Linked DNA regions of Homo sapiens: region 2 is linked to region 1. The links are contacts of gene promoters, found by promoter capture Hi-C in human tissues and cell types (Jung and others, 2019). All regions are on one chromosome and are shown on one strand. Each heading gives the region's core, a stretch centred on a gene start or on the middle of the fragment in contact. The rest is flanking DNA. Distances are from core to core; before and after follow the strand shown.

What was found. The method cuts DNA at HindIII sites, captures the fragments that hold promoters and counts their contacts. A contact is called where the count stands out against the background at its distance.
Region 2: a fragment that was not itself captured here is called in contact with the fragment with the promoter of IL9 in region 1 in 2 of the 25 tissues and cell types used here (IMR-90 fibroblasts and aorta).

What each region holds. Positions count from the first base shown.
Region 1 is chr5:135,892,096-135,899,802 of GRCh38, reverse strand. IL9 (interleukin 9) reads left to right here and starts at 3,962. Exons shown (of 5, transcript NM_000590.2): 1 at 3,962-4,100; 2 at 4,213-4,248; 3 at 4,331-4,363; 4 at 5,652-5,783; 5 at 7,293-7,557. The coding sequence starts at 3,987. The coding sequence ends at 7,412. It overlaps LOC124901074 (a long non-coding RNA gene), which reads right to left. Exons shown (of 3, transcript XR_007058947.1): 2 at 7,200-7,361; 3 at 3,655-4,105. The HindIII fragment of the contact is 9,945 bases long and covers 1-6,987 here.
Region 2 is chr5:136,262,702-136,269,509 of GRCh38, reverse strand. TRPC7 (transient receptor potential cation channel subfamily C member 7) reads left to right here. Exons shown (of 12, transcript NM_020389.3): 5 at 3,074-3,290. The region is part of intron 1 of TRPC7-AS2 (TRPC7 antisense RNA 2); the gene reads right to left. Among named protein-coding and RNA genes, the nearest start is that of TRPC7-AS2, 39 kb to the right of the region's middle. The HindIII fragment of the contact is 5,146 bases long and covers 256-5,401 here.

The DNA of each region.
Region 1 (7,707 bases), core at 2,713-5,212:
CTCTTTCATGAGGAAGGGCTGGGTGAAGGCTTACATTCCTTTCTCTAAGTGAGTGAGCACTGGGGGTGCATTGGTGCATGGAAAGGGTAAGTAACCTGCCCAAGGAACACCAGTGGCCATGGATCACTTGACCCTGAGCCAGCTCCTGAGGGTAGCAGGGAAGGTGGGTGACCCAAGGCCTGCTGGTCAAGCCAAGACTTAACTTGTTAATTCATTCACTTTTCTCCTAACTTCAAAATGTGGGACTTTTCCTAGTAAACCAGAGCCTGCCTGAGATATCTTTGCTGCAGCTACCGGGTTTCATTGAGAGAAGATCTTTGGTTCATTGGACCAGCGAGCTCACTCCACAAAAAGCCTCAGGAAATGGCAGGCCCCCAACACTTCGGATAATCTGGCAGTCTGTGGCCCAGGTCCCCTGCTCCCTTCCCTCTGTACAGATACCTGACCTAAATAACCAGATGGGGAAAGGGAGAAGAGACACCTGAGCAACCAACCCCTAGCTCTACCCTTCCCAGGACTGGAGGATAATAGTTGATGTCTTCAGAAAATGTGGGGTGGGGTGTGGGAACTCAGCCAGGGGGTGGCCAACTTTTCCTGTAAAGGGGCCAGATAATAAATGTTTAGGCTTTACGGGCTACATACGGTCTCTATCACACATGCTTGTTTTTATTTGTTAATTATTTCTTTATAAACTTTAACCCTCTGAACCCTTAAAAAGGTAAACACTGTTCTTAGCTTGTAGACCTTACCTTCAACCTGAAAAGTGGATTACAGTTTGTTGACCGCTAACCTCGGCTGCTTTGCCCTAACAAACTTCAAACCGGATGCCACTTAAACCAAGTTAGGGATGGAGCAGCTGTTTCTTTTAATCTCTATGGGAGTACCCTGAGGGGAGCCTTCACTGACAACTGCATCCCTAGATCCCCATTCCCACTTTCCACATCACCATCCTCACTTACGAGTGAGTGAGAACTGACAACTGCAACTGCATCCCTAGATCCCCATTCCCACTTTCCACATCACCATCCTCACTTACGGTCAGGAAATGGAAGCTGGGAGAGGCCAAGCAATCCCCCAAGGCCATGGAGCTAGCAAGTGATAGAGGCAGGACTTGAACTCAGGCATTCTGATTCTAGAGTCACCGGTCTTAACCACTGCACTGTACTATCCCCTGCTAGAAACTAGAGCTGTGGCTTTCTCTTCTTGGGCAAAGCCCCCATCTGTACAACAGGAGGGGTGGGGTGGTGTTTTCCTCAATATGAAAGGCATACCCGATGGCAGGTGAAATGATTTCCACGGTTCACACAGAGAGCATCAGATAATATTGATTCACAGAATGAAAAGATGATTGCCTTTTCACATCTCTCTCAAGTCTTCCAATAATGTCAGGGAAGGAGGTTTAGTCTGATGGTAATGTATCTTTAAAATCTCTCCAAAGCATGCTAATTTTCTTTTCTTTTCTTTTTAAACAAGAACAGGTTTTATAACTCAGGATCCTCAGTAGGCAGTGATAGCTAGCTAGAATTTTAGTATCACTGTTGTACTATTATTATTACTTCTCTTGTTAGTCTCATGGTTTTATTTTTTATTGCCTTTCTGAATATTTGCTATTTATGAAAAATGTTAGTGTTGCCATTGCTGTAATTCTCTTGTCCATTTCTTCATAGTTATAATATTGCTGCTGAAGCTCCTGCCATCACACCCAAATTGGAATTAAGGGGAAAGACAGGGTTCAGCCACTTTTGTCTCCTATTACCAGGAAAGCAAAATAATTTTACATACTTTGCATTGATCGAAACATGCTGCATGGCTACATGTAGCAGCAAAAGAGGCTGAAAATGTGGGTGTTTGGCTGGATACATTGGTACCCCAAACTAATCAGAATTCTACCATCAAGAAAAAGGCATACATCCAGTGCTTTGTAACAAAAGTGTTTGCCACAGGCTGGGAATCCTTTGAGTTTTCTCTTCAGTGTCTGCAAAGAGCAGGGATGGAAGTCAGAGATGTGGGATGGCTTAAGGGAATTTAGCAAAACACCTGTTTCTCTTTACCTTGTTTACCACCAAGACACTCCCTTCCCCATAGTGCAGTGGAACACTGACGAGCCATCATCACTCCTAAGAAACAATACAAAATGAAAAAAAACAGTATTGCCATACTCTTACAGTGGAGGCGAGGAAATCTTATGAGTTTGTCCCCACTGGCTATTATAGTTCAGAGTGCTAAGCTAAAGAACCCCTCACCTTTTCAATCTACTGTGTAGAAGCTATATTTACTTACCTGCACATACCTCCAAATATGTATCCTAGAAATCAGATTTGAAATCTTATAAATCCCAGAAGTAGGAAGTTCGTATTTCAAGAACTACTTTTCAAATTAGTGTTTTAATTCAACAAGCATTTAGTGAGTGCCCACAGTTCCCCAGGCACCTCCTTAAGTGCTGAGAATATAGGGGTGAACTGGACCCATAAAGCCCTGGAGTATATATCCTGGTGGGAGAGGCAGATAAAAGATCTGCAGAAAAACAGGAGTTCAGGAGGATTAAGAGCTGAAATCAGGAGGCAGACTTCTGGGCTTGAATACAAATTCTGCGGCTTCCTGGCTTTGTGGTTTTGGGCAAATTACCTGCCTCTCTATGCCTCAGTTTCTCCATCTGTAAGATAATAAGAATAATTATAGTACTTCATAGAGTTACACTGAGATTGCTTTTTTGACTCATAGTGATTAAACACAGCCATACTGAAGGGCCAGGAAGCTAAGATGTAGACAGTGTTTTAAAGGGTAAAAAATGGTGATGACAAATTACTCCCCACCTCATTTGGCAGCCGAGTGTATTACATGGCTTAATGCATGTAAAGTACTTAGAAATGTTGCTAGTATGGTCAGGCCCAGTGGCTCATGCCTGTAATCCCAGAACTTTGGGAGGCCAAGGCGGGCGGATCACGAGGTCAGGAGTTCAAGACCAGCCTGGCCAACATAGTGAAACCTCGTCTCTACTAAAAATACAAAAAATTAGCCGGGCGTGGTGGAGGGTGCCTGTAATTCTAGCTACTCGGGAGGCTGAGGCAGGAGAATCGCTTGAACCCGGGAGGCAGAGGTTGCAGCGAACCTGGATTGTGCCACCGCACTCCAGCCTGGTGACAGAGGGAGACTCTGTCTCAAAAAAAAAAAAAAAAAAAAAAGAAATGTTACTAGTATGTAGTAAGTTCTCAGTAAATGTTAGCTACTATACTCTTTCAAGTGCTGGGTTTTTACTTGATGTCATACAGTGTTATATAAGATCTCCAAAGATACTGAGGAGTCCTCAAGGCCAATTTTAACAAGCATGGTTGCCGCATTCTTGTGCTTATAGTTGAACATTTCTTCTTTCAGACACTTGCACAAAGGGATACTTCTAAGATGCATTTGCATTAGGTGGCAAACTTCATCCTGGGTATGAAAAACATTGAGATTTGGGAATAAAGCATAGTAAGACTGAGGTTGCAATTACTAAAGGAAAACCCCAACAGAGATAAGTGAAGTTCTGCAATATCATGCACCCTCCCCCAACCCGCTCTGTCTCCCCAGGCCCCCCTTCGTTAGAACACCCATGACTGGCTATATTATATCAGCATTTCCCATAATGTAAAAAGGGAAAATACAGACCTGGGCGTTCATGGAAAGTATTCTAACTCTCACAACCAGAATCCCTGTCTTTGAATTTTTTTTCTTGGTTTTTAGATCTTTAACTTTTCCTTCAGCATTTCAGTACTCAACTTTTTGAAAATCATCTTTTCTGAGGAATGATATTTCCTGGCACAGCATCATCTCTGTCAAGTGACTCAGTTTGATTTTTTTGTTTGTTAGTATAAAGTGGCCCCAACTTACAGAGAAAAAGTGGGCTCTTGGTATCAGTTTGATGTCAGGGTTTTTCCGTGTTTGAGAGGGAGCTTTAAATACCACTCGATTTGAAGGTGTCTGCAAGCGAGCTCCAGTCCGCTGTCAAGATGCTTCTGGCCATGGTCCTTACCTCTGCCCTGCTCCTGTGCTCCGTGGCAGGCCAGGGGTGTCCAACCTTGGCGGGGATCCTGGACATCAACTTCCTCATCAACAAGATGCAGGTAGGCTGCAGGGGGAGCCCATGGGAAAGACAGCTACTGACAAAGTGAAATATGTATGAGGATGAAAAAACTCGGGGCTGACTAAAGGTTCTTATCTCTCTATCTACTTTAGGAAGATCCAGCTTCCAAGTGCCACTGCAGTGCTAATGTGAGTGAATGCTCTTTAAGAACTTTCCAAATTAATTTTAATTTTCACATCTGGAATCTTCACTCTGAAATTTCCCTTGCAGGTGACCAGTTGTCTCTGTTTGGGCATTCCCTCTGTAAGTATAGTGAAATAACATAATGTTGACCTTGGATTTTTTTGGTTTGTTTTTAAGTAAAAATAAGTTGCTTTATTTAATATTTAATGTTATACATTGTTGCTTAATTTAATTGTTACAGATTAGTATTCCCTGTTAAAACCACATTGTTACAAATTATTCCCTTTTAAAACTACGATCTTGAAATCCTATATTATGAACATTTCTTTGTATTTAATTAACTTTATGCCTCTTGAGAAGTTTGAACACTTTTCAACATTAAAAAAAGAATCCTGAATATCTTTTTAGATAGGTGGCCATGTGCACAATTAAATAAAACTGGAACTAAGGATATAATAATTGCTGTAGCTCATATCATATTGCTTTCTAACTCATTTACTGATAACTCTAGAGTTGTGAAACAATGTAAATAAAATGACAACTCCTTATCTTTCATCTGTCATGAATGATCTATGCGCTATACCTCCCCCTCCCTGCCTCCTCCCTTCCTCCCCACCACCCTGTTGTCTGTCTAGCTGATTAGAGTGACTGTTGGTTTGAATGCTGCCCTCTGGGCAGGTAGAGGATCTGAGGTTGTGAGTGGAAGGAGGGCTTCCAGAGGGCCACTGCCCACTACGGCAGGAAGGATGGGTGGCAGGAAAGTTCTGATTCCTAATTCAAACTCCTGGTTAGGGTGAGGAGGAGGCACTTCTCCAAGGTGCAGTGCTTTATTCTTTCTCATGCAAGGCCTGGGAGAATCTGAAGAATCTGAGCTTCTTGCCCTGGCTAGGGTAAGACATCGCACCCATCGCGGTCCATCCATTAGATGAGAAGAGGATAGAGTGCCTTCTGGGCAGGAACCAGGCAGACAGCACAGCCCCTGTCCCTTGGAGTACCGTCCATGTTTTTAGCTGCTGCTGAAATACCAGCTGCATTCAATTGTCACATCCCATTAGCTGGTGTGAAAAGGCTTTTCCTCACTCTGCACTTTCAGACTTACAAGCCTTGAAGCCGGGAAGCACCCGTTGAAAAGAACATTCAGAGCCGACTATTTCAGGGCCCAGAGCCCTCATGTTTCCTGGATGTAACATACAGGAAGTCTCCTCCAGGGGATGTCACTGTGGAAAAATGGCATCCCCTTTAAATACGGGAGATCACTTCCTACATTGGCAAGGGACCTGTCTAAAAATAATGCAAGTTTGAGTAATGGTGATTAAATAAAAATCATCTCTATTATATTGCTCTTTGTGATATATTTCCAAAGCTGTCCTCAGAATATTTCTTTGAATAAATCCTTACTATTTACCAGGACAACTGCACCAGACCATGCTTCAGTGAGAGACTGTCTCAGATGACCAATACCACCATGCAAACAAGATACCCACTGATTTTCAGTCGGGTGAAAAAATCAGTTGAAGTACTAAAGAACAACAAGTGTCCAGTAAGTTTGTTTTCATATGTGATATGTTCCTGTTGGTGATTTCTATGTGAATGGTGATGCCAACCCTGTTTGAACACAAAAGGATGATAAAGTTGGAATTGGTAGTTCAAGGTTGATAAAAGACATCTAAGAATTTTAATCAGAAGTAATATAATTAAAGTGAGATCCACTGAAACAATAGAATTAAAGTGAGATAGATCATTGTTCCTGACGAGGCCATTTACTTCTCTCTACTATGGAATAATGAAAGAATCCTTTCTGAGTGTAATTAGAAGCTACAATCTAGAGAATCAGGGATGTAGCTCACATAATACTAAATTATCCTAGAGATTCAATGTACTAACTGAATGGATGTTGTTAACAGGGATTTTTTTTTCCTGTTGGTTAAGGAGGTTTTGTTTTGTTTTGGAGACAGAGTCTTGCTCTGTTGCCCAGGCTGGAGTGCAGTGGTGCCATCTGAGCTCACTGCAGCCTCTGCCTCCCGGGTTCAAGTGATTATCCTGCCTCAGCCTCCCGAGTAGCTGGCATTACAGGTGCGTGCCACCATGCCTGGCTAATTTTTGTATTTTTAATAGAGATGGGGTTTCACCATGTTGGCCAGGTTGCTCTCCAACTCCTGAACTCAAGTGATTTGCCCGCCTTGACCTCCCAAAGTGCTGGGATGACAGGTGTGAGCCACCATGCCTGGCCTGCATTAAGGAGGTATTTAAAGGGCAATGCACCCAGGTCAAGGTGGAAGCTTGCTACTCATCCTGAATGCCCATCCACACATTCTTTTCTTCAGCATATACCCTAGTCCCTGACAGCAGACTGGGATGGCAAGTTGGGTAGAGGTGACCTCCCTCTGTTTTTTGGGTATTAGCATCTCCACACAAGATCCTAGAAGGCTGAAAGCCCTGAGCTCAGCTGTTTAGCTGCATGCGTTTCTACCATCAATGGCATCTAGTTCTAAGTGCTTAATATATGCTGTCTCACTGAATAAATACATACCTTAGGGACAATTATTCAATTTATTACTCTCAGTGAGGTTAACTAATTTGCCTAAGGCTGCATATTTGATAAGTGGCAGAGCTGAGATTTGAACTCAGGCCTATATGACCTCAGAGCCCCACTCTTAGCCATTGTACTGTCAAATGACCTTGGAAAGACAACCTAAAAGGATAATGATACAATTTTAGGCCTCAAAGAGTCCCCAGAAAAGGCTTTCTCTAATGCAGAGATTTAGGGCCACTTAATAGGGGTGTGTGTGTGTGTGTGTGTGTGTGTGTGTGTGTGTGTGTGTGTGTAAAGACCCCTGAAATCCAATTTGAGGTCAACCACCTATGCTGTCTTTACACCACATGAGCTAGCCTGGACCTGCCCACCTATTTGCTCTGTGTCTCAAGCCACTTCCCTTCCCATCCCCACAATCCTCACCACCGACTCTGGCTCTTGGCAGGTAGGCTTCTGGGGCTGCTTGGCTCTACATCATTTGAGTCACTCTGTCCTTATCAACTTTCATCCCCACAGTATTTTTCCTGTGAACAGCCATGCAACCAAACCACGGCAGGCAACGCGCTGACATTTCTGAAGAGTCTTCTGGAAATTTTCCAGAAAGAAAAGATGAGAGGGATGAGAGGCAAGATATGAAGATGAAATATTATTTATCCTATTTATTAAATTTAAAAAGCTTTCTCTTTAAGTTGCTACAATTTAAAAATCAAGTAAGCTACTCTAAATCAGTATCAGTTGTGATTATTTGTTTAACATTGTATGTCTTTATTTTGAAATAAATACATATGTGGAAAAAACAACATGAGCTGGTCTCTTGGCAATTATTCATTTCTTGCTGCTCAGAACAAAGAAAGCTACAAGTGTTGTTAAGGGGAAGAATAGATCAGAGACTCCTGTAGGAGTCTCTGTGATAAGACTCCTGATGCTGAAT
Region 2 (6,808 bases), core at 1,579-4,078, 370 kb before region 1:
CCACAGGGCTATATTTCTGGGATGTGGGGACTCACACATCCAGGTACCGCTTAGGTGCTTACACTTGTGGGGGCTAAGAGCCCAGTGGCATGGAACACAGAGTTGGTGCTGACCAGTAAACGCAGGTGCCCACCCCAAAGGTCCATGAAGGCAATTTTCTTGGAGCCAATTCAGGGGCACTCTTCAGTTGCTTTGACATTCATATATTTCTCAGAGCCAAAGAATAGTGGCCAGGAAGCTTCGGGTGAGCCAGAGACTTCAGTTCTACAAGCTTTAATTTCCTGATGTGTTCTCAGCTCATAAGGTCCTAGTAATGACTGAACTGCTTTAGCCCACATTTTTTGGGCTTCTCAGTTCTGCACTCCAGGCACAGCAGGCTAAGGCCCACATCTTCATCTCTTTTTACACCTAACGCTGATACCTGACCCAGCTTTAACGATTCTGCAGCTAAGAGCTGCTAGCATATATTGGTTGACTTTTCTCCTTTCTTTTGGCTCATCTGATGGCCTTGCAAATGGAGGAAATTTTCCCCAAAGGTAATTTACTTCAAAAATTATCTGTGTGAGTCAAATAGGGAATTTTACAAATAAAGAAAAAGGAAACCATTGAAATGACTGGATCTCATTTGACCTTTATCAAAGTTTTACCAGATAAAAAGATGCATTCAAACCCAGAAGTATAGGAAAAGAATATCAATTCCCAACCTCACTTTTCCTCCCTGTGACCTAGATCAAGTGGGAACTGAGCCCAGGGTAACTTTCCATCAAATCACCAAAAGGCATTAACAGGACTTTTTATTATGGTTTATAGTAAATATAATAAGTTTTGCAGATTCATCTTCTTCTAGAAGATAACAGCTTGAAGGAGGTAACAAAACGAATATTAAATTCCTTAAACCAGGTCTTCTGGGGAAACTCAAAGCCAGCTTGGGTGCAGCTACATACAAATTCCAGGAATCAGGTGCCTCACCTGGGTGAGAAGTTGGAGAGGTATACCCCATATCCTCATCCAGATTATCACTGAAGATATTAGGTAGAGACCACAGATAAAGGATGGGGAAAATGGACCCCTTAAGAGCTGTGTCTATCTCAGAGTTCCCCAGCTTTTTCTAACATTCTTGAAACCTTGCTGGGATACACAAGACCTGGTATCCCTTGCCCTCTCTTCAGTCTCCCCTCTCCTCATCTATTCTCCTCCCTGCAGTCATTCTCCATCTCCCATCACCTCTCATCACCAGCTCAGTCAGGACACAGTGACAAGAAACAATGTGATGACTACCTAAGGCTGTCTCCTGGATATGCCAAAATATCCCAAGGTCCTGGTTGGGAAATGGGGCTCCAAGATGCTAACACCATTTGCTAAAATGTCAAAAACTTCAAACTAGCTATTTAATATCATATAAATAAAAAAGAGACATGGTTTAATTCAGTTTTTTACTGAATTTATATAAAAATGTTTTATTTGTCCTTACATTTTATCTCTATCTCTATCACCTTCAGTGCCCTATAGAATGCCACTGCATTCTATAACTAGCACATCTGTCTATTGCCAAAAATAATCTACAGTCCCTATTTTTGTAAGTAATAAACATTATACAGAAATGTTATTGTAAAATATTTGTGGGCCTATTGTCAGATAAACATCTCTTTATATTTCTGAAGTTATTCCTAGTGTCATATGACAATATGCAGATGAATTCTAACACAAGCAGGGACTCCTAATGCTTGGATATTTTTTAAAACCTAGATTTTTAAAAAAGATAAAAACTAATACTTTATTTTAATAAATGGGTTCTATAGCATCAGAATCATAATAATGTTATGCTAATAACTACAGTAATTAAAGTGGATGATTAACATACTGAAGCACATTAAAAGAACATTATCAAACCATCTGATTTATAAATGTTGTGCTGAACATATGTGACTAGGAAAATTCTACTTAGAGAAGGCCCTGTAATTGATCTTCTGTTGAACCAACAGTCTATCTCCTGGGTAACATTTCACTCTAGGACTCCTGAATGAGGCAGAATGTGAATGTCAAGTAATCAGTCACTGGTTATAATTGAATATCTACCTTGGAAAAGGAACTGAGCTTCAGAAAAGATGTTCCTCTTTGTTCTTGCCTTATTATTGTACCTGGATGAGGGGTAGGGCTTGGTGCTTAGATGAGGGCAATGAGCTGGAAGAGTCCCAACTGAGTTCATTAACAGGAGGTTGGCAAGTACTCAACGTGCAGCCCTCAATTCGATCCCAAAGATCCAAGTGGCCTTTGGATGGGGTGCCATGAGATAAAGAAGATGTGACTAGTATTTGCTCCTAATAGGGCATCTTTTGGACCATTTCCAGCTTGTGACATTTCAGGCACTAGGCCAAAAGGAAAACCTCAATGAATTTTAGAATACCATCATAGAGGCTATGTTCTATAAAGATGCTGCAATAAAATTCAAATTTTTTAAAGCAGGGAGAAAAAAAGTCCTCTATGTCTGGAAATGAAATAATCCTTGAGTTAAAAATGAAATCACAATATAATTTATAAAATATTTATAACAGAATGTCAATGAAAATGCTACAAGTGAAAATTTAGGAGAATACAGCTAAAGCAGTACCTAGTGAGAAATGTATAGCTTTAAATAAATGTATCAACATACAAGAAAGGTTGAGAACAAATACCCTTAGAATGAAGCCCAAGTGAGTAGATTAAACAAAAACCGAGCACTCAAAGTGCATTTTTTAAAATTGTGAACTTTATGCAGACATTATTTTTTCATATCCATGCAGTTGGAGGTATCAGTGCAATCAGATGTAGCATGATGATTATGTCAGGTGTGTTCTATCAATTTCTCTTAGCCCTCCCACTAAGTCTTCTAAATAGGAAAATATTGACCAAATAAGTTTGGTCAAGCAGCATCTCACATAATAGTTCAAGAAAAAATGTTGTATGGGTTCAGTTAGCAGTTTCTGTCCAAGATGAAGGATTCTCTGGTTAAACTTTGGTGAAAGCGATGTTATAAAGAAAGACCTACATCCACCTAGAGACAGTTTAACATGTCTTGAACACATTTTCTTTCCAGCTAGGACGAACCCTGAGGAGCCCTTTCATGAAGTTTGTAGCTCATGCAGTTTCTTTTACAATCTTCTTGGGATTATTAGTTGTGAATGCATCTGACCGATTTGAAGGTGTTAAAACCCTGCCAAACGAAACCTTCACAGACTACCCAAAACAAATCTTCAGAGTGAAAACCACACAGTTCTCCTGGACAGAAATGCTCATTATGAAGTGGGTCTTAGGTAAGCAAGTCACTCTATTTTTATTCTCTCCTTGCTAATTATAGTAGGACATTATTAAACTCTGATTTCTGAATTTCTCCCTCTCCTCTTCAGTGTACTCCTGATAGACAAAATGGTGAGTGGATGACCAACAAGAAAGTCAGAGTCAACTTCTGTCTTTAAGATACACAGACCTGTATACAAATTCCAATTTTGAAAGGAAATGTTTGGGGCGGCGGGGGACAGAAATTTTTTAAGTACATATATTGAACATTCATTATACATGTATTGAAAGTAGTTTCATGGGGAAACATATTATTTTGATCATTTAAATATAGTCTACTGGAAGCCTTAAGAAAACAAGTTCAGATTCTAAAAAAGGGCACAAAATTTCATAGCTTGAAAGATATTTCTGTTATCACTAAATATTCATATTCATAGTAGAATTGTGATAATAAATATACATCTAAAAATTCACGGGAGTAACATTTTCTTGTTATTTGTGTAAGTGGGTGTACTAAAAGGCTATGAAATTCCTCTTGTAGTGGTATTTCATGCTGCCACAGTCTGCCACTGGAGCTGCCAAGGAAATTGTTCCCAATTTCCTCATTGATTAACTAAGAAAGGCTGTCTTTTACCCAATTTATGAGAACCATTACTAGAAGGAATAATCAGAACAAAATAAAACTGGCAGTGACTAAAATTGAACGTGGCAAAATGTGTTATAGATTTTTCCGACACTGAAAACTACAAAACTGGTTGGTTAAAAAAAAATCAGTCTTAGTAGGAAAAAATTAAAAATTGCAAAAACTAAAATCAGTGACTCTGTTTATAAACCTTATCAATAAATTTTAAGATTTACATCAAAAATATGTCAATTTGATGGGAATATTTTCAGTAAAACAAGAAAAACAGAAGATAAAAAAGACAAAAAATTAGTACAGTATCAAGACTTGATCAAATAATTCAATTGGCTTAATGGTATTCACCTTAGATTTTGCTTTCTGAACAAAAATTTTAATATTGGTATAATTTTCATTATGTTTATATTCACAAACAATGAGTCAAAATGTATTCGGGTCAAATCAACAAAATCACAGTAGAACAAATACTTGAAAAGGTAACCTAACATATGGCCTGTGCTAATTAAATAATATAGCCCAAGAGTGCTACAAGAGTAGAACCACTAGAGAACATCCTATGGATGCCTAAGCTGAGACCAATTGGAAAAATGCTCTCTAAATTCGATCTCTAAATAGGCAAAGGAAGATGAGATGAATGGTTTTATCCAAAGGGTATAGGAAGGACAACCCACCAAGCTTTCCAGGGACTTTATAAAACCAGCAACCCGGCCAGGCACAGTGGCTCACACCTGTAAACCCAGCACTTTGGAAGGCCGAAGGGGGTGGATCACGAGGTCAGGAATTTGAGACCAGCCTGATCAACATGGTGAAACCCTGCCTCTACTAAAAATACAAAATTTAGCCAGGCATGGTGGTGTGCGCCTGTAATCCCAGCTACTCAGGAGGCTAAGGCAGGAGTATCGCTTGAACCCAGAAGGCAGAGGTTTCGATGAGCGGACATTGCACCACCGCACTCCAGCCTGGGCGACAGAGCAAGACTCTGTCTAAAAAAGAAAACAAACAAAAAAAAAAACAGCAACCCTGTGACCAAAGGCTCATTTAGTACAGTCACTGGCACTAAAGTTGGGAAGGGACATTAAAGTTTGTTACAGAGTTCTGTGGTCTTAACTTCACAATTCAGAATCTATCCCAGTTCTCCCTAGTACATACGCCATTGTTTAACTAAATTGAGCATTTTAACACTAGGCACTTAGAAAAAACTCACATGTTGGATTTATGAATAAAATTTAAAGTATTTACAGCACCAATCACCCACCTACCCCATTTTCCCACTTGGACCCCAGGTAGAAGACTCTGGTAAATGCAACCATACTTTCCCTTGAACAGGTGTGGCTGCTATTAATGGAACCTCTTGAATGAGGACTTCCTCCTGAGTCCTCATATTTCTCTTCCTGGGTGTCAGAGCATTATTCCAATATAAGGGATGTGTCTCTAGCTATAGGAACCCCAACTTGTATAGCTTAGTCCCTGCTTCTGACCCTCAGAGCAGAATTCAAGACTGTTAAATCAGAAGTGTTGTAGAGGGAAGGACTTATTTCTCATTGGCCTCTTTCCAGAAGGAAAATTCTAATTACTTTTTCTTTCCTAGAGAATGTTTTCAAATTTTTTATCACAAATAATTTTAAGGAAATGCAAAAAATCAAGAGAAGAGCATAATGAATTCCATGGACCTATCTCTCATGTTCAACAGTTAGCAATTCATGGCCAATCTTTGCTCCATCTATACTTCCCCCACCTCCCTTCTCTCTAACCTTGAATTATTTTGAAACAAACCCCAGCTATTGTAAATTTATTCTGTAAATATTTTTGTGTATATCACTGAAATGTAACATGTCTTTTTCCTTTTATCAGTCTTTCTTCTTTCTGTGCTTCACAGTCGCTGATATTTTTTCCTGTGGTTTTTGTGATTTTAATTTCAATCAGTGAGTTTTTCATTTCAGATATTATATTATTCAATTCTTAAAATCTTATTTGGTTCTCTTTTATATCTCCCATTTCCTTCCTCATCATTTTTGTGTTTTCCTTTAAATCCTTGGACACATTTACAATAACTGTTTTGAAGTCTTGACTCCTAACTCCATCATTTCTGTCATTCCTGGGTTGATTTCTATTGACTAATCTTGCTTCTAATTATGGATGACCTTTTCCTGCATCTTGAAATGTTTGGTAATTTTTTGGTTGAATGATGGGCACTCCGCATGTTACAGTTGTGAGCCTCTGGATTTTGTCTTCCTTCAAAGTTTTTGGCATTATTCTGACAGGCTGTTATGCCACTTGTGATGAGTTTGATCCATGTAAAGCTTTCTCACAGTGGATCTGGAGAAGGCTTACTATAAAGATTGTTTATCTTTGTACTATAGAGACACACTTCTGGGGTCTCTATTGAATGCCCTGGGTAATCAACAAGGAGTGTCAAATCTGGATGATCAGAGCTCGAATATCTCCCCACTCTGGGTAAGCTCTGAAAACGGTTCGGCTTTTAGCTCCTTGGCAGTTGTTTGTGGAGTTTCACTCTATGAATTCATGACTTGGTATTCAACAAACATTCAAAAGAACCCCTATTTAAATTTCTGGTGTCTTTTGTTTGTTTAGTTTTGGTTTGTTTGTTTCTTTGCTTGCTTGTTTTTGCATAGTACCCTTCTCTCTGGAGCTCTGCTGCACAACATCTAATCACCTCAGCCTTCCAAAACCCCATTCTGTCTCTTCAACTCAGTGAGACTGCTGCTATGCTTCTGGGATCCCTCTCCGTGCACTACAGACTGGAATGTGCCTCCAGAAAGCAAGCCATGGTGGTCATATGGTTTGCCTCACTTGTTTCCCTTTACTTAGGGATCACAGTCCCGTGCTGCCTATTTCCAATGCCTAAAAATATTATTTATGTTTGCTTTTGTTTTG